7 separate regions of the Homo sapiens genome follow, and all the other regions are linked to region 1. The links are contacts of gene promoters, found by promoter capture Hi-C in blood cells and fetal thymus (Javierre and others, 2016). All regions are on one chromosome and are shown on one strand. The core of a region is centred on a gene start or on the middle of the fragment in contact, and the rest is flanking DNA. Distances in the headings are between cores, read along the strand shown. Region 1 holds the start of H2BC12 (H2B clustered histone 12). Region 2 holds the start of BTN3A2 (butyrophilin subfamily 3 member A2). Region 3 holds the start of H4C4 (H4 clustered histone 4). Region 4 holds the start of TRX-CAT1-4 (tRNA-iMet (anticodon CAT) 1-4). Region 5 holds the start of H1-3 (H1.3 linker histone, cluster member). Region 6 overlaps LOC124901287 (a long non-coding RNA gene). Region 7 holds the start of H2BC6-AS1 (H2BC6 antisense RNA 1).

Region 1 (2,700 bases), core at 133-2,632:
TGCTTTTCAAGAATACTTAGAATTGCAAAATTTGCCTTTAAAGAATGGCAAGTATATCCCATTTTTATGGCTGTTTGACAACACTATTAATGTAATAGAATTATTACACTGGAGGCCGGGCGCTGTGGCTCACGCCTGTAATCCCAGCACTTTGGGAGGCCGAGGCGGGCGGATCACCTGAGGTCAGGAGTTCGAGACCAGCCTGGCCACCATGGTGGAACCCCGTCTCCACTAAAAATACAAAAAAACTAGCCGGTCGTGGTGGTGTGTGCCTGTAATCCCAGCTATTCGGGAGGCCGAGACAGGAGAATCGCTTGAACCTGGGAGGTGGAGGTTGCAGTGAGCCGAGATCGCGCCGCGCCACTGCACTCCAGCCTGTTGGAGACTCCATCTCAAAAAAAAAAAAAAAAAAAAAAAAACCACTGGAATTAGTAAATAGATTTCAGGGATTTGTACGTTTGATTTCACTTATTACCCCTGCTGAATAAGCTTCTCCGGAGTATCCTACAACAACTTTTGGGTCTTCATTGCTTTCCAGTGGGTTAATTTAGAAACATTGTAAAGAGTTGCTCCAGCCCAACCGCGAAAGAAGCGCTTTACAATGTTATCTAGCGAAGCAAACATGAAGTGAAACAAACATGACTGTGTCCAGCTTTCTCTAAGACAGTGTAGAATGGCTCTGAAAAGAGCCTTTGTTTTCCAGTTTTCACAACCTCGCTCCTTATTTGGCCTTATGGTGGCTCTCAGTCTTCTTAGGCAGCAGCACGGCCTGGATATTGGGCAAGACACCACCCTGCGCGATGGTGACTTTGCCCAGCAGCTTGTTGAGCTCCTCGTCGTTGCGGATGGCCAGTTGGAGGTGACGCGGGATGATACGGGTCTTCTTGTTGTCGCGGGCCGCATTGCCAGCCAGCTCCAGGATCTCAGCGGTCAGGTACTCCAGCACCGCAGCCAGGTACACTGGCGCGCCGGCTCCAACCCGCTCGGCATAATTACCCTTGCGGAGCAGGCGGTGCACTCGGCCCACGGGGAACTGAAGCCCAGCCCGAGAAGAGCGGGTCTTGGCCTTGGCGCGAGCTTTACCGCCTTGCTTGCCACGTCCAGACATACTGGTCACAACTTACTGAAAGTAGCCAACGAGGAAAGGCAGCGCCTTTTATAAACACTATTGGGCGCGAAAAAGAAGATATGTCATTGGTTAGGGTTGTAGCTTAGTTTTAACCAATGGAAGTACGTCTTTTGGATTTGCAGATTGGGTTGATTGGGTATAACTAACCTCTGACGTCACCCTAATAACCACCAATCAGATACAGGACTTTCACTCTTCACCTTATTTGCATGAGAGGTCCTATATAAAAACGACTCCTGGTACCTTGCTCCCATTACTTCCCGTTTTCTCGATCTGCTGCTCGTCTCAGGCTCGTAGTTCGCCTTCAACATGCCGGAACCAGCGAAGTCCGCTCCCGCGCCCAAGAAGGGCTCGAAGAAAGCCGTGACTAAGGCGCAGAAGAAGGACGGCAAGAAGCGCAAGCGCAGCCGCAAGGAGAGCTACTCCGTATACGTGTACAAGGTGCTGAAGCAGGTCCACCCCGACACCGGCATCTCCTCTAAGGCCATGGGAATCATGAACTCCTTCGTCAACGACATCTTCGAACGCATCGCGGGTGAGGCTTCCCGCCTGGCGCATTACAACAAGCGCTCGACCATCACCTCCAGGGAGATCCAGACGGCCGTGCGCCTGCTGCTGCCCGGGGAGTTGGCCAAGCACGCCGTGTCCGAGGGCACCAAGGCCGTCACCAAGTACACCAGCGCTAAGTAAACTTGCCAAGTAAGCGTCTTAAAGCCCAACCCCAAAGGCTCTTTTAAGAGCCACTTAAATTATCGATATTAGAGCTGTAAACACGTGTTCCTAATCCAGGCTTAAATTCGGGCGATCTTTTTAAAGGGATTATCATGATCTTATCACACTGAGTAATGCATGCAGTGCTTGTAATCGAGTCTGGCTAAGGAGAAGCCACATACACTTTGTTAGTACTGAGTGAGGAATATGGCGCCTAAAAAATTAGGGATGTGCAGGAAACTTGTGTTAACAGAAAGTGCTTCCTGGCTCTTGGCGCGAAAATGGATACTTCCGTTGTGTCGAGTGCTGTGACTTCCTGTTAGAACTTGTTGAAAGCCTATTGTGTCACGTGTACTTTCCACCATGTAATGGCGTTCTAACGTGAGTTTATATATTAGTAAATTTGGTTCCCGATGGCGTTCCAGTACGTATGGCTTTCGCTCGAGCAGTTACCTTATTTAACCTCTTCTAGGCTGTACCCAGCTCTGCCTTGCTTTGCTTCCCCCTCACCCCCTGATTCCATCTCTGCAGCCCACGGGACATCGGGAAGATGCCAGACCACCAGGCAGGATAGTCTGCAAGGGTAAGGGGAGGAGCACAGCTTTTCTCAGGAGTGAAGAAACGGAACATGAAATCATCACGGAGATTTTTGGAATAGTTTACTAGTTTTTAAGGCATGTTCAGCGTCAATTGGTCCAATCAGTAATTTTTCCTTTTGACAAGAAAGCTTATAGAAAAGGAAAATGAAAAGCAAGTAGATTCAGAGGGGAGACAACAGACAGACTAGAGACAGTCCGCCCCGAAGCAAGAAGTTGGAGTAGAGGAGAAGGGAACTTCCCCAGCAGCACAGGGTTTGAGCT
Region 2 (2,700 bases), core at 13-2,512, 780 kb after region 1:
CTTAAATACTCTGTAGTTATATACTTTGCTAATGGAAGTGGAAATGTTTCTGGAAGCATTTGGCCATGTACACATGGCAAGTGCCTTTAAAATGTTGTATTATTTGCCCCCAAAATTCCAACTATAAAAGTTAGTGTTGAAGAAAAAAATTTAGAGATTGATGCAAATATTTATGGATAAGGCTGTTCAATCTAGTAAAATCTACAGTAACAAAATGTAGAAACTGAAAAATCCAAAATAAAGAGTTTTAAAAATAATTCGGGTTTTTTATTTGTTTGTTTGTTCTTTTTTCTTCTTTAGGAGCGGCTTTCTGAGTCAGAGTAGGCTCACAGAGACTCCCAATAATTATATATTCATACAATGTAGTAGCTTGTAACCATGGGAAATCATGCTTTAGGTTTTGGGGAAATGATGAATGGAAAGAAAACCAAGTACTATCCCTAAAAGATACCAAAAATGGTTTAATATAAGGATCCAGTGTTATTAAAATTATAAAGAATTTCACTTAATTAAAATTATGATTCCTAATGGTTACATGGAACATGTTTTATGACTGAACCATGCATTGTTTGTCTATTCCCCACCTGTTGAATATGTATGTTGGTTCAGATTTTACTATATTATAAATACTTCTGTAATAAACACATTTACATATAAATCTATGAGGCACATCTCTTTTTTCTTCTTCTTCTTCAGAATTTCTCAGAATAGATGCCTTGAGTTGGCCAGAACAGATTTTAAGGGTTTTTTGTTTGTTTGTTTGTTTGCCCTTTTCTGACCACAATACGTTAAGAACATGCAGTTGGAATATTTCTTCATTCATGTTGTCTCCCTTTCCTTCCACTAAATCCCAACCTCTGCAGTTCCTTATACTTTGCAGTACTTCTCCCGTCTTCCCACGTGCCCATATGTGCATGTGCGAGTGTGCACATGTACACATGTACACACACACACACACACACACACACACACACACACACACACAGGCACTGCACCCCTTTCTCTGGGAGAGTACTCTCCCTGCATGCCCACTCACCACTCTCAGCGATTCAGCCCCGCTCCTCCCATGCGTTGTAGCCCAGGCTCTAATCAATTTCCTGCACTTACCCCTTGGTATTCCCATTGGAGAATCAGAGCCCACAGAATAAAGACGGTCAATCAATAATTCTCCATTCTTTCTATTATGGCTTAGCCTCTCATCCGGAAGAAAGGAAAAAGAGAAAGCAAATATTGTCTTCTCACCATGAGAAACAGTAAGAGTCGCTCTTTGGAAGAATTAGTTTTTTGATTGGCTCAGAGGTGATGTTTCTCATCAGTTGCTGGGCAGAAACCACTGAGGAACGTTGAAATGAAAACTGAAAGTACATTGAATTGTACACGTTGAGGAAAAACTCCAGCCCTACCTCCCTTAGTGTTTGTGTTTCTGTGTTTATCTATTTGAATCATTCTTGTGCGTGGATGTATATAAGTATTTCTTTATATTCACCTGTCTCGTGTCTTTTACATGGTAATAGAAATATTAGCAGAATGGAGTAGGAAAGTAAAAAAATTTAATGTGCAAAGAGAGGAAGATGTGCACTAATTAAGATGCTTCTGTGGCAGTTTGCTTGCATGTAGATAGGTACGTAGAAGAGGAGGATCTTTTTTACAGAGCCTAATAAAGGTATGAATGGAAAGAAAATGAGACAAACTGCACCTCTTTAAGAACTTCTGGCATTTAGGCTTAGGATATGGTATCAAATAATATAATTTTTCTGATTTCCAGAGGCAGTGCTGCTTGACATTGTTTTACCTTTCCCAGGAAATTCTTACTGCAGATCTTTCTGAGCATCTTCATTCACCCTCAGCTCCTGGTTTGTGCTATATTGTATTTTCTTGGGTATTTGTTTCTCACGCTGCCAGTGGAGTACATATTCTCTGAAGCTAGACACTCCATAGGCTGTGGTCTCTGTAAGGCTCGTTTCCTGTACACCATCTCTGTAAGGAGTTTATGGGACAATCTTGTTCTCCCTGTGGCTTACGACCTCAAAACACACTTTTTTGGGCTGCAAGCCAGAAATCTCCTAGAGCTAATATGTGACTGGAGCTGATGGGATTTGATTATATTGCAACAGTTTGAATTTAGGCTGTGTGGTATCTGCTTGAGATGGCTGGTTGCTTCTGCAGCGTGCATGCCCCCTTCTTCTTAGTGACAAGGCCTAATTTTCTGGGGTACTGCATCCTGCTCTTCCCCCTTGAAGATAGGGCAGGCCAAGGGACTAAGTTGGAGCCAGCGGTTTGTAGGTGAAAGTTGTGGGCTTGTACTTCTCCCAGAAATCCTTCAAAGGGAGGCCAAAATAGCTGGGAGTGTGAGGGTACACTCTCCCTTCTTCCTTCTTCCTCTTGCCTAGAACATGGACTTTGGACCCGGAGGTGCAGTAGCCCACCCTGGGACCATGAGGCAGCCTTGAGGTTGGAAGCCACACACTGGGACAGCAGAGAATGAAGTCAGAAGCAGGCTGGGGCATGAATGACATATCTGAGGTGCCAGATCAGCCCTGGACTGTCACCATCTAAATTTATTTAAAAAATTTTTTCTTTTAAAATATTTTATTATATATTAGTACTCAGGGTAAATTTCCAAATAAGTTTGTTTTTCATGAAAGGAAAACAAATCCTTGTTTTATTTAAGCCAGTGGTACTTCTGGTCTCTGTTATCAA
Region 3 (2,700 bases), core at 23-2,522, 960 kb after region 1:
CTGTCTCTCATCCCTTTAGAAGGGTGAACCTTAAGGATAGGAATTGAAAACACCCACAATATTGTACTATACCATAATTAATGTTTAGTCATTGCTTATTTGGAATCTAGACACTATTCTAAGCATTTTGATAGGATTATCTGTTTCAACTTAACAAATACTTACAAGTTAGATTTTTAAAAATACATTTACAACAAGGAAACTTAGTATAGCTTGCCCAGGGTCACCCCCACAGCATGTATGTCAAGCAGGCTGTCTCTATGATAGTTTGGAGGGATACTATGATGCCAATTTGCTGGAGTAATAGAATATGGTGAATGATGCAGTGCTAGCTACAATCTGTCCATGATTAAAGGCACAATCAAAGCATAAATTTTCATAAATTTCAGCCCAACAAGGTTTTCTTTTACGGGTGTACATAGTCATGTTTTCAATCGGCCCTCGGTGATCTTATCCTAATTTGACCTCTAAATGTGTAACTTTCATATACTTTTAGTTCCCTCAGTAGCACTATCTAGCCTGCATGCCAAAGAGCCCTGCTTGGTTAACTAGGAATGCATAAATCAATAAAAATAATCTCAGAGACAATAAAGATATGAGTTACTTAAAATACTTTGAAAGCACCTTATGGCCCGGCGCGGTGGCTCACGCCTGTAATCCTAGCACTTTGGGAGGCCGAGGCAGGTGGATCACAAGGTCAGGAGTTCGAGACCATCCTGGCCTATGGTGAAACCCCGTCTCTACTAAAAAAATACCAAAATTAGCTGGGCATGGTGGCGGGCGCCTGTAACCCCAGCTACTCGGGAGGCTGAGGCAGGAGAATTGCTTGAATCCGGGAGGCAGAGGATGCAGTGAGCCTAGATCGTGCCACTGCATTCCAGCCTGGGCAACAGAGCAAGAACCCGTCTCAAAAAAAAAAAAAAAAAAAAAAAAAAAAAGCACCCTGTGAGGGAAACAGTACTAATTATTTGATATTCTGGGAAAAGTGGGGGACAATTGTCAGGCTTCTTTGTCGAAAGTTTATGAACTGATGGCTCAGTTAATGGCTGCAAGTATAGTGTGTGTGTATATATATATATATACCTAGCAGTATTTATTAAATCCCAGCTGAGGCTCTTTTGTTGCCTCAGGCCCCTCTTGGTCTCCTCCAGTCTGAGCAAGGGAGAATTGCACAGAAGGGCGGGAACTGACTGTGGTTCCCGCCCCTTCTCATGAGGTTTTCAAACAGGTCCGTCATGCTATTATAAAAGTGCTGCGTGGCTCTGCCAGACGTATTGCGTTACAGATTTAACAGCTGTGGTTTCAAGATGTCTGGCCGCGGTAAGGGCGGAAAGGGTCTAGGTAAGGGTGGCGCCAAGCGTCACCGTAAGGTATTGCGTGACAATATCCAAGGAATCACCAAGCCCGCTATCCGCCGCCTGGCTCGCCGCGGCGGCGTCAAGCGTATTTCTGGCCTCATTTATGAGGAAACTCGCGGAGTGCTGAAAGTTTTCCTGGAAAATGTAATCCGCGATGCTGTCACCTACACGGAACACGCCAAACGCAAGACAGTCACAGCCATGGACGTGGTGTACGCGCTCAAGCGCCAGGGACGCACTCTTTATGGCTTCGGCGGCTGAGCTTACCTCTACAGTACACTACCGCAAAACCAACGGCCCTTTTCAGGGCCACCTATCCACTCAGGAGAAAGAGTAGTAGTCACTGCTAAAAGTGTAGTTTCACGTGTTTAGTAGCTCCGGTTTTCAAGTTAAATGGTCTTATTACGCCTTGGCTTCATATCTTACTGGCCGGTGAGGATAGTGTATTAAAGTTTATTTTCACTCTTGCTGTGTCGCCCATGCTGGAGTAATCAATGGCGCGATCTCGGCAATCTGCAGTCTCCGCCTCCCGGGTTCAAACGATTCTTGTGCCTCAGCCTCTTGCGTAGCTGGGGCAACCGGCTTGCGCCACCAACACCCGGCTAATCTTTGTATTTTTTGCAGCGATGGGTTTTCGCCATGTTTCCCAGGCTGGTCTTGAACTCAAGCTCAAAAGAGATTTCCCTCCTCCGCCTCCGAAAGTGCTGGGATTACAGGCGTGAGCCACCACGCTTGGCCTGTGTTTTCTGTATTTCTGTAAGGAAACATGGCAAACTGCTGCTAACATTCTTCATGGCTATCAGAGAAACAAGGTAGCAAAGACTGTAGCTGCTGGAGAAACAAGGTAGCAAAACCTGTATCTCAGAAGGCAAGTGGTAAAGGCTGATGCTGCCGTGAAGAATAGTGAAAAAAATGGAGGTAGTTACTAGTTCCTACCAAGGCATTGTTATATGAAAGGAAGACAAAATGGCATTCAGATGGTTATTGGTGTGGGGGGATGGGAGGTGTGTTGGAGGCACTTGACTGGCAAATACATTCTTTAAAGAAGAAAGTAGTAATTACCGTGGGAGAAACAACCATGAAAGTACATAAGATTCAACATTTTTTAGTGGAATGGGGAGAGGCCAACTTGTTTGGTTCTGTTCCTCTGAGCTGCCTTCCATCCAGATCTACTGATTTTCTATTGTTGAATTTAAAAGGACTTTTTATTTATGTACCCGTGGCCAATTTAAAGGTATGTTGAACGAGTTCTTTTTTTGTTGTCCTTTTATCTTAAATAGTCTTAGACTTTATTATTAACAGAAGTCATTTTACCTTAAATCATAGATCAGGTTACTGTGGT
Region 4 (2,700 bases), core at 200-2,699, 820 kb after region 1:
CTCCCAAGACGTCTATATTTGGAATATACAGGGAAAACTAGGTAAGAAACGGAATGAAATATAAACAAGAACAGGTGAAAATGAAGCAATTCAGAGGCAGAGAAAATCAGTGATTGGGCGGACAGCAATTTTACCGAGAGGGAAGCAGCTAGGCACTATTTTGTATCTGTTAATAGCTGCCTGGTCTTCACCAGTACCGAAATTATTTTCATGAATCAGATTGACAGGTAAATAAAACGTAGGTGTCCCGGAGACCTCGTGGCGCAACGGTAGCGCGTCTGACTCCAGATCAGAAGGTTGCGTGTTCAAATCACGTCGGGGTCAACAGTTTTTAGCTCGCTGGCTCAGATAACTGTATGGCGGGGAGTACATTACATATTACAGGGGGAAAAAAGTTGCTTTTCCTGCTTCTCTTAGGCACTTGTATACTCAGTTACTTTAGCCTCCTCAAAACTACCCCCTTCTCTTTTTTTAGTAGGAAGATATATACAGGAATATGTTATGGTATTTTGGGGCTTATTTCCGGGTTTATAGAGACGTTTTCACTCTTTTATTGCAAACATTCTGAATTATACTCTTCAGCAACTCATCCCTATTGTTAAACCCTCCTGGACTTCTCTCCATACTCACTCCCACGCCCGCGGCCTTATCTTTTCATCCATGTCTGTCTCTCCAACCTTCAGAAGCTTAGCAGATCTTCGCAGAGACGTAGTCTGGTTTGAGTGGATGACCTAAGCTTACCTGCTTCATATTTGGATCAGCTGTTCCAGGCTAAAGCGATTCCATTGAACTTCCCTGGATCTCTGCGATTTCCTCAACCCTCCCTGCAAATCACGGAAGAAGTCACTTGATTTCCAGAGGCAGAAAACCTGAATGCAGTTACTTTCTCAAATTCATACAGGGAATGAACCATTACATCAGAGAAGGCTAGCTATTCCGTGAACCCCCTTATAGTATTATCTGAAAATGTGCATGAATGTGCCGTTTTTTTCCCCACATGTGGCTCAAGACCCCCTACAGATTATGAATTAGCAAATTACAACATGGAAAAAAGGAAAAGTACGTTTATTTCTTCAGAAGTGTTTAAATTTTTATAACTTACAATGACTTTAAAACATGACATTTGAAATATTAGCAGATTTTCTCTTATGTATTTACTGTACACATTCACACAATACACAGTGACAAACATTACATCGGAGAAGTGTACCTAAAATAACCTTTTTCCTATTTCTTATTAACTCTTTTCTTAGTAGTAGTCTAAGCCTATGGCCATATTACGAACAGATTACTGCTCTGGAAAAAAAAAAAAGAGAGAAGACATAATTTTGAGATTTGGAAACTTGACACGCTAGAAAAAAGGTGACTATTAACTCTGGGACCTGTGACTCGCGTAGCAGAGTGGCGCAGCGGAAGCGTGCTGGGCCCATAACCCAGAGGTCGATGGATCGAAACCATCCTCTGCTAGGGAGCGTTTTGTGGATTTGTTTTTCCCCCTTCCAAAAATAGATCTACCTCATAGGAGGAGGAAATTGGTATAATTGTCATGGACACCGTAAGGGAACTTATTTTGATTTGCACCTCTCTCAGAGATCTATATCTCTGGTTGCAATACATTACTATCCTAATTAGATTAAAAATAACAAAAGCAGTAGTTTTAGCTTTGATTGTTTGAACAGTTAATAGATACCATGCACTATTCCAAGTTCTGAATCATTTATTCCTCGCAATTCTACGAAGTAAATACTTGCTATTACTCTTACTTTACAAATGAGACAAATTGGGGTTTGTCTGCAAGTTGGGGTTTGCAGAGGTTAACTAACTTGCCCAAAGTCATGCAGCTAGTAAATGGTAGAGCAAAGATAAAACTCTAAACCGCCGTTCTGCATAATTACAAACACTAATATTTACAGCAAACTTCAAAAGTTATTTCAGCTATTCCTTCCGAGTTTTATTAGTAGGACATGAACTCACCTAGTATTATTAAATCCCTAGTAAAATGAGAGGTACCATATGTGACATATAGTAACATGTCCAGATTTGAGCAGGCTGTAGGTGACACTTTTTTTCCTGTTCTTATTTTTCTGTTTACTCAAACTAATACAGATGCATAAGGAGACATGTTTAAAGTAGGATGAAATCTACAGACTGTGCAAAGCTTTTGAACTTTTGGAGAAATGTTTAGACAACTGACGAAATGCTTGGGGTTGAATTAATGAAAAGTGTCTAGAAGCTTAAGCAGTAAAACAACAAGAAAAGACAGTTATGTACTAATGCCGGGGAAAAATAAAAATTGCAAGGAAAGGAAAACTTAACAATGTATTTCTTTGCCCACTTGTTGAATTATGTTTATAAAGTTGTCATATTTTAAGCTACAAATATTAAAGTATCATGTATTGTGCTATAACCATATGAGAAGACTTAGAAAGGGAGCATGTGTGTGTCGGGGGTCCTGGGGTGTGAAGAAGAAAGTGAACCAGTTACTCCTCTTATATAAAGTCAACAGAAGGTCCATACAAACATATTATTTAGAGATATGTAGGTAAATAATTTTAAAATAAGCTATTTAAATGTTTAAAAAGTAGGCTTAACCACTCAGCCACGACTATAGGTGCCAAAAGTTTTCTTAAACGTCGTACATGTTATTATATGTCACATATTGTACCTCTCGCTTTACCAGGAATTTAATAGCTGAGTTCA
Region 5 (2,700 bases), core at 30-2,529, 910 kb after region 1:
TTTAAGAGAAGGTTGGTAACTCTACTTAGGACTTTTTTTTCTGTAAGAGGAATAATGTAGCCTCACCCTTATCTTTCTGGAAATGTTTAAACCACTGAAATATGGAGATCAAATCCAGCTTACACACTGGTAACTCAAATACTATTTTTTTTTTTAAACTATCTTTTCTAAACTAATCACCCCTCTTGTACATAGAACTTTCTACCTCAGTGCCAATTCCTAGAGGTTGATGCAAACAGCTCGCCAGAGAGCCTGTGCTATTGTTCCTGCGAAAAAACCCAATTTCCCTGCACATTTGGATAAAAATGAGTTTATCTATATAAAGTTGAGACGGTAAGAATTCACAGAACAATGCCCTGGAAGAGAGATTTGCAAATGAAAGAGGGAGAAATAGTATTTTTAAGGAAAACATGAAAGTTGTCTCGATTTGACCGAAGTTTGAAAGAGAGTTGGGGGAATAAGAAAAGTTTCAAGATGCCGGTTTTAAAACTATGCATAGAAACAAAGGCAGGAATGAAGCCCGAACTCTCTCGGATCAGTTTCCCCCAAGTCTCTAATTATTTCATGCCCAGATTTCTTATATTTTTACTCTTTTTTAAGGGGCAACAAACACAGCAGCGCGGTAGATACGAGGAGTCCTTTTCCAGCAGCGCCGCGCATGGAGCAAGGAACCAATCATCACTCAGCGTCTCTCTATATAAACCCTCAGCCTCCCTCGTAGAGGACATGCTGTTCTGACAGTTTGAGATTACTTATTGTCTTTTCTGGGAAGACAAAAACATGTCGGAGACTGCTCCACTTGCTCCTACCATTCCTGCACCCGCAGAAAAAACACCTGTGAAGAAAAAGGCGAAGAAGGCAGGCGCAACTGCTGGGAAACGCAAAGCATCCGGACCCCCAGTATCTGAGCTTATCACCAAGGCAGTGGCAGCTTCTAAGGAGCGCAGCGGCGTTTCTCTGGCCGCGCTTAAGAAAGCGCTTGCGGCTGCTGGCTACGATGTAGAAAAAAACAACAGCCGTATCAAGCTTGGCCTCAAGAGCTTGGTGAGCAAAGGTACTCTGGTGCAGACCAAAGGTACCGGTGCTTCTGGCTCCTTCAAACTCAACAAGAAAGCGGCTTCCGGGGAAGGCAAACCCAAGGCCAAAAAGGCTGGCGCAGCCAAGCCTAGGAAGCCTGCTGGGGCAGCCAAGAAGCCCAAGAAGGTGGCTGGCGCCGCTACCCCGAAGAAAAGCATCAAAAAGACTCCTAAGAAGGTAAAGAAGCCAGCAACCGCTGCTGGGACCAAGAAAGTGGCCAAGAGTGCGAAAAAGGTGAAAACACCTCAGCCAAAAAAAGCTGCCAAGAGTCCAGCTAAGGCCAAAGCCCCTAAGCCCAAGGCGGCCAAGCCTAAGTCGGGGAAGCCGAAGGTTACAAAGGCAAAGAAGGCAGCTCCGAAGAAAAAGTGAAACTGGCGGGACGTTCCCCTTTGAAAATTTTAAACGGCTCTTTTCAGAGCCACCCACAGGTCTCAGTCAAAAGAGCTGAAGCTTTTTGGAGGGGGGAGTGGGGTGGAGAGGGGTGCGGGTGCTGCGGTGTTGTGCGGCCACGGTCTATCCTAGTCGTGCTGGTTGGGGGTCAGTTATTAACAGCTCCCAGCAGCCTGGGCGCAAGGATCCTTCCGTCTCAGTCTCAGCCACAGTCACCGGATAGCTAAGGCTACTTGAGCCACCAGGTCCTACTTTTTCTTCAAATTCCCGCGGTGGTGTGTGATTGGCCGGCCGATTTCTGTTAAAGCGCGGCGCTTAAAAGTGGCCCTGAAAAAATTTTATTTCTGACACAGGGATGTGGTGTAAATGCTTTAGTTTACTTTAGCGTTGAGGTGACTTCCTGAGCACATCCCGTCCTGGTTGTGAGCAGTACGTGGCATGCCCAAGGTGCTTCCGGCCCACGATCTTGTGCAGCTGGTCGTTGAGAATGGCCAACTGCTGGTGGTGCCCGGTGTCTGTCTTTTCGCAGGCCTTTGATAAGCCTTAGCTTTGGGATATCGGCCCTCAGGTACTGTATTTGTAAATAGTGTGGGGGCTGCACTGCGTGACGAGGTGGCTCTCCTGTAATCCCAGCATTTTGGGAGGCCGAGGCGGGGGCATCACGAGGTCAGGAGTTCGAGGCCAGCCTGAAGAACATGGTGAAGCCCCATCTCTGCTAAAAAAAAATACAAAAATTAGTCAGGCGTGGTGCCGCGCGCCTGTAATTCCAGCTACTTGGGGGCTGAGGTAGAAAATCACTTGAACCCGGGAGGCGGAAGTTGTAAGCCGAGATCGCGCCACTTGCACTCCGGCCTGGGCGATAGAACGAGACTCCGTCTCAAAATAAAAAGTGTGCCCATTGTCTTTTTCTGTCAGTGGCCAGCGTCTCCAGGACTTATTTTCCCAGGGGCTCTCTTGCTTGTTCATTTATTTCTGCCTACTCTTAACCTCCTAGCACTGCCGCCAGGTAACACTAGCATGCTGGTCCAACCCGCTCGGAGTAGCTGTATTTGCGGAGGACGCGGTGTATTAGCCCTACTGGCAACTGTAGGCCCGCGTGGCAAAGCAGGTCTTGCTTTTGGCGCGAGTGTGGTCTTGCTTCCCACGTCCAGGTAATGTTAGAAAAAAATGCAATTCTTGTATTAAGCCAATCGGAGGGATAGTTCATCATAGCCTCTGGCTCAGTTTTGTAAA
Region 6 (2,700 bases), core at 183-2,682, 850 kb after region 1:
CTCTGGGGTTTAGTCTGTACTGTCCTTCTGCCATTGTCCCCTTCTTATTCTGCTGGACCACAGGAGCCATGTTCTGAATCTCAAAAATTGAAAGAATCTTTTGTCTCACCCACAGCATGCATTGAAAATGATAAACAGGAGGCCAGGCACAGTGGCTCACGCCTGTAATCCCAGTACTTTGGGAGGCCGAGGTGGGCGCATCGTGAGGTCAGGAGATTTGAGACCATCCTGGCTAACACAGTGAAACCCCATCTCTACTAAAAATGCAAGGAAATTAGCCAGGCGTGGTGGTGGGTGCCTGTAGTCCCAGCTACTTGGGAGGCTGAGGCAGGAGAATGGCGTGAACCCGGGAGGCGGAGCTTGCAGTGAGCTGAGATCGTGCCACTGCACTCCAACCTGGGTGACAGAGCGAGACTCTGTCTCAAAAAAAAAAAAAAAAGAAAAGAAAAGAAAATGATAAACAGGAAAGGACGAAAATTGGCCTGTACCATCCCCCCAATAGCAGAAACATCTATACCGCCTCCTTCAGTAGCAGAAAGAGACCCCAACACAAAGAATTCTCTGCGCTGCTGCCATAGCTGGAGAGCCCCTAGGACCTTGCGCTTTTCCTATTTCCGTAAGGCCCAATCTGAATAATCCACAGCAGTTTACTTATGAACACACCCCGGTAGAGTTTAAGTTGTTGAAGGAATTAAAAGCTAGTGTAGTTAATAATGGAATACAGAGCCCATTTACTTTAGGATTGCTAGAATCTGTACTCGGTGCTATGTGCCTTCCAGCCTTTGATATAAAGCATTTGGCTCACACTTGTTTGTCTGGTAGTGCATATCTGACATGGAATTTAAACTGGCTAGAACTGTGTGCAGACCAGACTAGACAGAATCGTGCTGCTGGACACGGGGACATTACAGAGGATATGCAACTGGGTAATGGCCCTTATTCAGATCTGCTGCGACAATTGACACTCCCAGGCACTGCTTACAAGCAGTCTGCCTTGGCTGCTAAACGCGCCTGGGACACCATTCCAGAGCAAGGAGTCCCAGTACAATCTTTTCTACAAGTTATGCAAGGGTCGCAGGAGTCCTATGCACATTTTGTTGTACAATTACAAGAGGCAGTGAGGCATCAGATTCCTCATACCGCTGCTGCAGAAATGCTTACTTTGACTCTAGCTTTTGAAAATGCAAGTGCAGATTGTAAACGTGCTCTGGCACCTGTGAGGTCTGCAAAGATCTTAGGAAAATTTCTCAAAGCCTGTCAGGATGTGGGAACTGAACTCCATCATTCTACAATGTTGGCTCAAGCAATGGCTAATTTAGTAGTAACAAATCTAGAAAGGGCCAAGGGTCAAGCCCTAAAGTAGGAAAATGTTATAATTGTGGAAAAATTGGACATTTCAAAAAAGAATGCCATCAGACCTCTGGGCAGAGAGGATCTTATAATGCAGTTCCCCCAGACAGAAAAAATGCCAGGACTTTTCACTCGTTGTAATAAAGGAAATCATTGGGTTAATCAATGCCGCTCAAAATTTCATCAGAATAGCACCCCCCTGTCGGGAAACGAGAAGGGGGCCTGGATCCGGGCCCCTCAAACAATGAGGGCATTCCCCATCCAGGCCACAGCCCCATTTCAGGGATGGGTTCCCAGAAGAACATTGATTCCCTCTCCCCAGGAACACCCAGAAGCACAGGATTAGATCTTCCAGTCAGAGAACGGGTTACATTTGTTGGAGGAGACAAACCCACGAAGATTCCCACTGGTATTTGGGGACCTTTGCCAACAGGATATATGGGATTAATTTTGGGCAAAAGCCGTCTTAACTTACAGGGCATTACCATGGTCCCCGGAGTTGTTCACTGTGATTATGAAGGAGAAATTCAAGTAGTAGTAATGTCACAAGATCTTTGGGTTTTTGAACTGGGAGAATATACTGCTCAACTATTGCTTATTCCCTGCAAGTTGCACCCTTCCCCATGAAAGGAAAAACGAGGGAATCAAGGATTTGGAAGTACAACTAGGCGGTAAATTTATCTATCACAACCCATAGCATTTAATCGACCCACCTGTACAGTGCAAATTAAAGGAAAGAAGTTCTATGGGCTTATGGATACGGGAGCTGATGTGTTAGTAATATCCAAACACTATTGGCCCACCATCTTGACCCCTGCAATTAACTTCTACATCCTTAGTGGGACTAGGAAAGCTCAAAGTGTTCAGTGGAGTGCTGAGATTTTATCCTGTCTCAGACCACATGGACAGTCATGTACTTTTCAACCTTATGTTGCAAATATAGCTGTTAATCTATGGGGCCGAGATTTACTGACAGCATGGGACATGAGACTTAAAAAGGAAACTATTGATAATCCAGGATTTAAAATGTTAAAGAAAATGGGATTCAGAGTGGAAAAGGCTTAGGAAAGCCCCTGCAGGGAAACCCTGATCCAATATCAATAACTGGACAAAACAGAAAAGGGCTAGGTCATCAGGATTTTTGGTGGGGGTCATTGGTATTTCTCCTCCACCCACTGCTTTGCCGCTAGAGTGGCTGACTGACAAACCTGTGTGGGTGGATCAATGGCCCCTATCACAGGAGAAACTGATGCAACTCCATCAGCTAGTGAGAGAGCAACTGGAAGCAGAACATACAGAATAGTCAGCCCCTGGAATTCACCTGTATTTGTGATCCAAAAATGTCAGGAA
Region 7 (2,700 bases), core at 11-2,510, 970 kb after region 1:
ACGCCTGTATTCCTAGCACTTTAGGAGGCTGAGGCAGGTGGATCACTTAATGTCAGGAGTTCAAGGCCAGCCTGGCCAATGGCGGCCTATCTTCTTCTGATAATACAAAACTTAGCCAGATGTGGTGGCACGCACCTGTAGTCCCTGTTACTTGGGAAAGTGAGGCAGAAGAATCGCTTGAACCTGGGAGGTAGAGGTTGTAATGAGCTTAGATCAGGGCACTGCACTCCAGCCTGGGAGACAGAGTGAGATTCCATCTCAAAATAAAAACTAAAATAATAAAAAATAAAATAAAATAAAATAAAATAAATAAAATAAAAAAGAGATTAATAAAGAAAAAACATGATCATCTCCAAAGATACTGCGAAAGCATTTAACAAAATATAACACTCTTTAATCATAAACACTTAACAGACTACAATGAGAAGAGAACTTCATAAGGAGGAGCTACAGCGAGTATAACACTTAATGGTGCCGTTTTGGAAGGATTCCCATAGAGGCGGAAGGAAGACAAGTGTGGTGAGAAAGTACTCCTATTCAACACGGCATCACAGGGTTTGGCCAATACCATGAGATAGGAACAGGCAGTCAGAAGAGCAAGGATTCAATAGGAAAAGATGATTATCTTTGAAAATAACATAATTGTCAAGGTAAAAGTTCACAAGAATCTATAAACAATTAGATCAAATAAGAATTGGAATTAGTGGGCATAGGCCAGGCGTTGTGGCTCACGCCTGTAATCCCAGCACTTTGGGAGGCCGAGGCGGGCGGATCACGAGGTCAGGAGATCGAGACCATCCTGGCTAACACGGTGAAACCCCGTCTCTACTAAAAAATACAAAAAAACTTAGTCGGGCGTGGTGACTGTAGTCCCAGCTACTCGGGAAGCTGAGGCAGGAGAATGGCGTGAACCCGGGAGGCAGAGCTTGCAGTGAGCCGAGACTGCGCCACTGTACTCCAGCCTGGGGGACAGAGCGAGACTCCGTTTCAAAAAAAAAAAAAAAAAAATTAAAGTCATATGAAGATTAATATGTAACATCTTCTTCGACTTAAATGTTCATTTTTTTCCTTCTGACTTTAGAAGAAATTAAAATATTTTCATGAGCCTCCAAAAGAACTGCGGACCCTAGACACCGTGCCTGCTGTTTAATGGAGTACGGCACTGCGTGTACCGGAAGATGATTTTTTTAAAAAAAAACTCAATTAGGAAATAATTATTCGCACACATTCATATACATACATACATACACTGAATCCTCACACGAAGAGCCCTACAGGCGTGAGAACAGTAAGGGAGATGCAAGAAAGGTCTCCTTGGAGTTGGGAGGCGTATTTACAGCTACTAGAGAAGGGGGAAGTGCCAGCTCCCCGAGAAGAAAGCAGGAGGATGCTGAGAGACTAAAGCTGAAATTTTCTGCCTGCTTCCTCACTCTTTTCGTTGGTTTCAGCCGTCTGAAAAACCCTTGTGAGAGGAGCAAAAAGGTCAAGGGAAGATTGTTGCCTTGCTCTCAGTCTTCAAAATTTTCGATCCTCCGTTTTTTTTGTTTTGAGACGCAGTCTCGCTCTGTCGCCTAGGCTGGAGTGCAGCGGCGCGATCTCGGTCACTGCAACCTCCGCCTCCCTGGTTCTAGCGATTCTTCTGCCTCAGCCTCCTGAGTAGCTGGGACTACAGGCGCGTGCCACCACACCCGGCTAATTTTTTTGTACTTTTGATAGGGACGGGGTCTCACGGTGTTAGCCAGGATGGTCTCTATCTCCTGAACTCGTGATCCGCCCGCCTCGGCCTCCCAAAGTGCTGGGATTACAGGCGTGAGCCACCGCGCCCGGCCGGTCCTCTGTTTTTAAACTGTAAAGGACTCCAGCGGATTGTTCGAAGTCTCCGATATCCCGCGATCTGGTGGCCGCAGAAGAAAGAGGCCGAGTCGGCGGGGACTGGGAACCACCAGTTAGCGGCCTACGGGCAACCTCCCGGACGCGCGCGCCGGGCCGACGTTAAACGTACGTGACGCCCTATGCGGGAGCCGGATGGGCGTAACGGGGCGGCGGCGTAACGTGTGGCTCTGTGGTTAGGGCACGGAGGGGCGTGGCCGGACGGCCCTATGAGGGGGCCGGCGTTTTTGGCGAGGGTTGATGGGATGACCCTATGAGGGAGCCTGCGTGGAGGGGCACGACCGGCCCCAAGACTCCTTTTCATGGCCGCATAGCCGCACCGGGAGTAGGATGACCGCTGTTATTTTTCAGGACCTCTCATCTTCGGTTTGAAATTCTTTGCTTTTTTCCGGCTTTGTGTGGCTATTTAGTATTAGCATTTTAGGGCAGTTTCATTTCCTTTAAAGTAAAACTCTCCAAAGTGGTCTCCGGACCAGCAGCATCAGCATCACCTGCATAATTTAGAAGTACAAATTATCAGGTCCTACCTCAGATCTAATGCATCAGAAAAGTTTTGTGACTGCTTCAAAACATTGTTTCCCTTAATTCAGATGCTGGAGGAGACCTTTCAAATGGCAGCTTAGCATAAGCTAACCAGTTTTTAACTTCAGGTTCATTACCAAAGCCACATCAGTGCTTAGGCCTTATCCACTCAGACCTCCTTGATGCTGGAAAGTAAAGTGAAAATAGGTAGATAGATGTCTAGAAAGGGGAGGTCTTAGAAGAAAGGTTTGGATCAACAATGAAGGCAGAATTTACAATTCTCCGCAG

What was found. The method cuts DNA at HindIII sites, captures the fragments that hold promoters and counts their contacts. A CHiCAGO score of 5 or more calls a contact.
Region 2: a contact is called between the fragment with the promoter of BTN3A2 here and the fragment with the promoter of H2BC12 in region 1, in 15 of 17 cell types (activated CD4 T cells, naive CD8 T cells, M2 macrophages and 12 more). The highest score is 21.1, in activated CD4 T cells.
Region 3: a contact is called between the fragment with the promoter of H4C4 here and the fragment with the promoter of H2BC12 in region 1, in 17 of 17 cell types (non-activated CD4 T cells, total CD4 T cells, fetal thymus and 14 more). The highest score is 50.1, in non-activated CD4 T cells.
Region 4: a contact is called between a fragment that was not itself captured here and the fragment with the promoter of H2BC12 in region 1, in 11 of 17 cell types (erythroblasts, total CD8 T cells, activated CD4 T cells and 8 more). The highest score is 7.8, in erythroblasts.
Region 5: a contact is called between a fragment that was not itself captured here and the fragment with the promoter of H2BC12 in region 1, in 10 of 17 cell types (erythroblasts, naive B cells, activated CD4 T cells and 7 more). The highest score is 12.8, in erythroblasts.
Region 6: a contact is called between a fragment that was not itself captured here and the fragment with the promoter of H2BC12 in region 1, in 1 of 17 cell types (M0 macrophages). The highest score is 5.8, in M0 macrophages.
Region 7: a contact is called between the fragment with the promoter of H2BC6-AS1 here and the fragment with the promoter of H2BC12 in region 1, in 17 of 17 cell types (naive CD8 T cells, naive CD4 T cells, activated CD4 T cells and 14 more). The highest score is 31.8, in naive CD8 T cells.

Annotation. Positions count from the first base shown.
Region 1 is chr6:27,145,537-27,148,236 of GRCh38, reverse strand. It overlaps H2BC12 (H2B clustered histone 12), which reads left to right and starts at 1,382. Exons shown (of 1, transcript NM_001312653.2): 1 at 1,382-1,876. The coding sequence starts at 1,439. The coding sequence ends at 1,819. It overlaps H2AC12 (H2A clustered histone 12), which reads right to left and starts at 1,131. Exons shown (of 1, transcript NM_080596.3): 1 at 675-1,131. The coding sequence starts at 1,108. The coding sequence ends at 722. It overlaps MIR3143 (microRNA 3143), which reads right to left and starts at 611; the gene lies at 549-611. RefSeq lists enhancers at 745-994, 1,325-1,784, 1,039-1,955, 2,375-2,484. The HindIII fragment of the contact is 2,078 bases long and covers 492-2,569 here.
Region 2 is chr6:26,363,760-26,366,459 of GRCh38, reverse strand. It overlaps BTN3A2 (butyrophilin subfamily 3 member A2), which reads right to left and starts at 1,262. Exons shown (of 11, transcript NM_007047.5): 1 at 1,108-1,262. RefSeq lists an enhancer at 1,255-1,304. The HindIII fragment of the contact is 4,055 bases long and covers 1-2,700 here.
Region 3 is chr6:26,187,684-26,190,383 of GRCh38, reverse strand. H4C4 (H4 clustered histone 4) reads left to right here and starts at 1,272. Exons shown (of 1, transcript NM_003539.4): 1 at 1,272-1,674. The coding sequence starts at 1,308. The coding sequence ends at 1,619. RefSeq lists enhancers at 1,084-1,263, 2,046-2,671. The HindIII fragment of the contact is 9,357 bases long and covers 1-2,700 here.
Region 4 is chr6:26,329,068-26,331,767 of GRCh38, reverse strand. It overlaps TRX-CAT1-4 (tRNA-iMet (anticodon CAT) 1-4), which reads left to right and starts at 1,396; the gene lies at 1,396-1,467. It overlaps TRW-CCA3-2 (tRNA-Trp (anticodon CCA) 3-2), which reads left to right and starts at 253; the gene lies at 253-324. LOC101928743 (a long non-coding RNA gene) reads left to right here. Exons shown (of 3, transcript XR_241992.5): 1 at 1-41; 2 at 2,681-2,700. The HindIII fragment of the contact is 1,422 bases long and covers 739-2,160 here.
Region 5 is chr6:26,233,014-26,235,713 of GRCh38, reverse strand. It overlaps H1-3 (H1.3 linker histone, cluster member), which reads left to right and starts at 727. Exons shown (of 1, transcript NM_005320.3): 1 at 727-1,502. The coding sequence starts at 781. The coding sequence ends at 1,446. It also overlaps the pseudogene H2AC9P. RefSeq lists enhancers at 214-1,201, 1,115-1,524, 2,355-2,404. The HindIII fragment of the contact is 501 bases long and covers 1,029-1,529 here.
Region 6 is chr6:26,292,759-26,295,458 of GRCh38, reverse strand. The region is part of intron 1 of LOC124901287 (a long non-coding RNA gene); the gene reads right to left. Among named protein-coding and RNA genes, the nearest start is that of TRR-TCG4-1, 5.6 kb to the left of the region's middle. The HindIII fragment of the contact is 3,127 bases long and covers 1-2,700 here.
Region 7 is chr6:26,171,333-26,174,032 of GRCh38, reverse strand. It overlaps H2BC6-AS1 (H2BC6 antisense RNA 1), which reads left to right and starts at 1,260. Exons shown (of 3, transcript NR_186648.1): 1 at 1,260-1,998. It also overlaps a transcript of H2BC5 not described here. RefSeq lists an enhancer at 1,294-2,186. The HindIII fragment of the contact is 22,011 bases long and covers 1-2,700 here.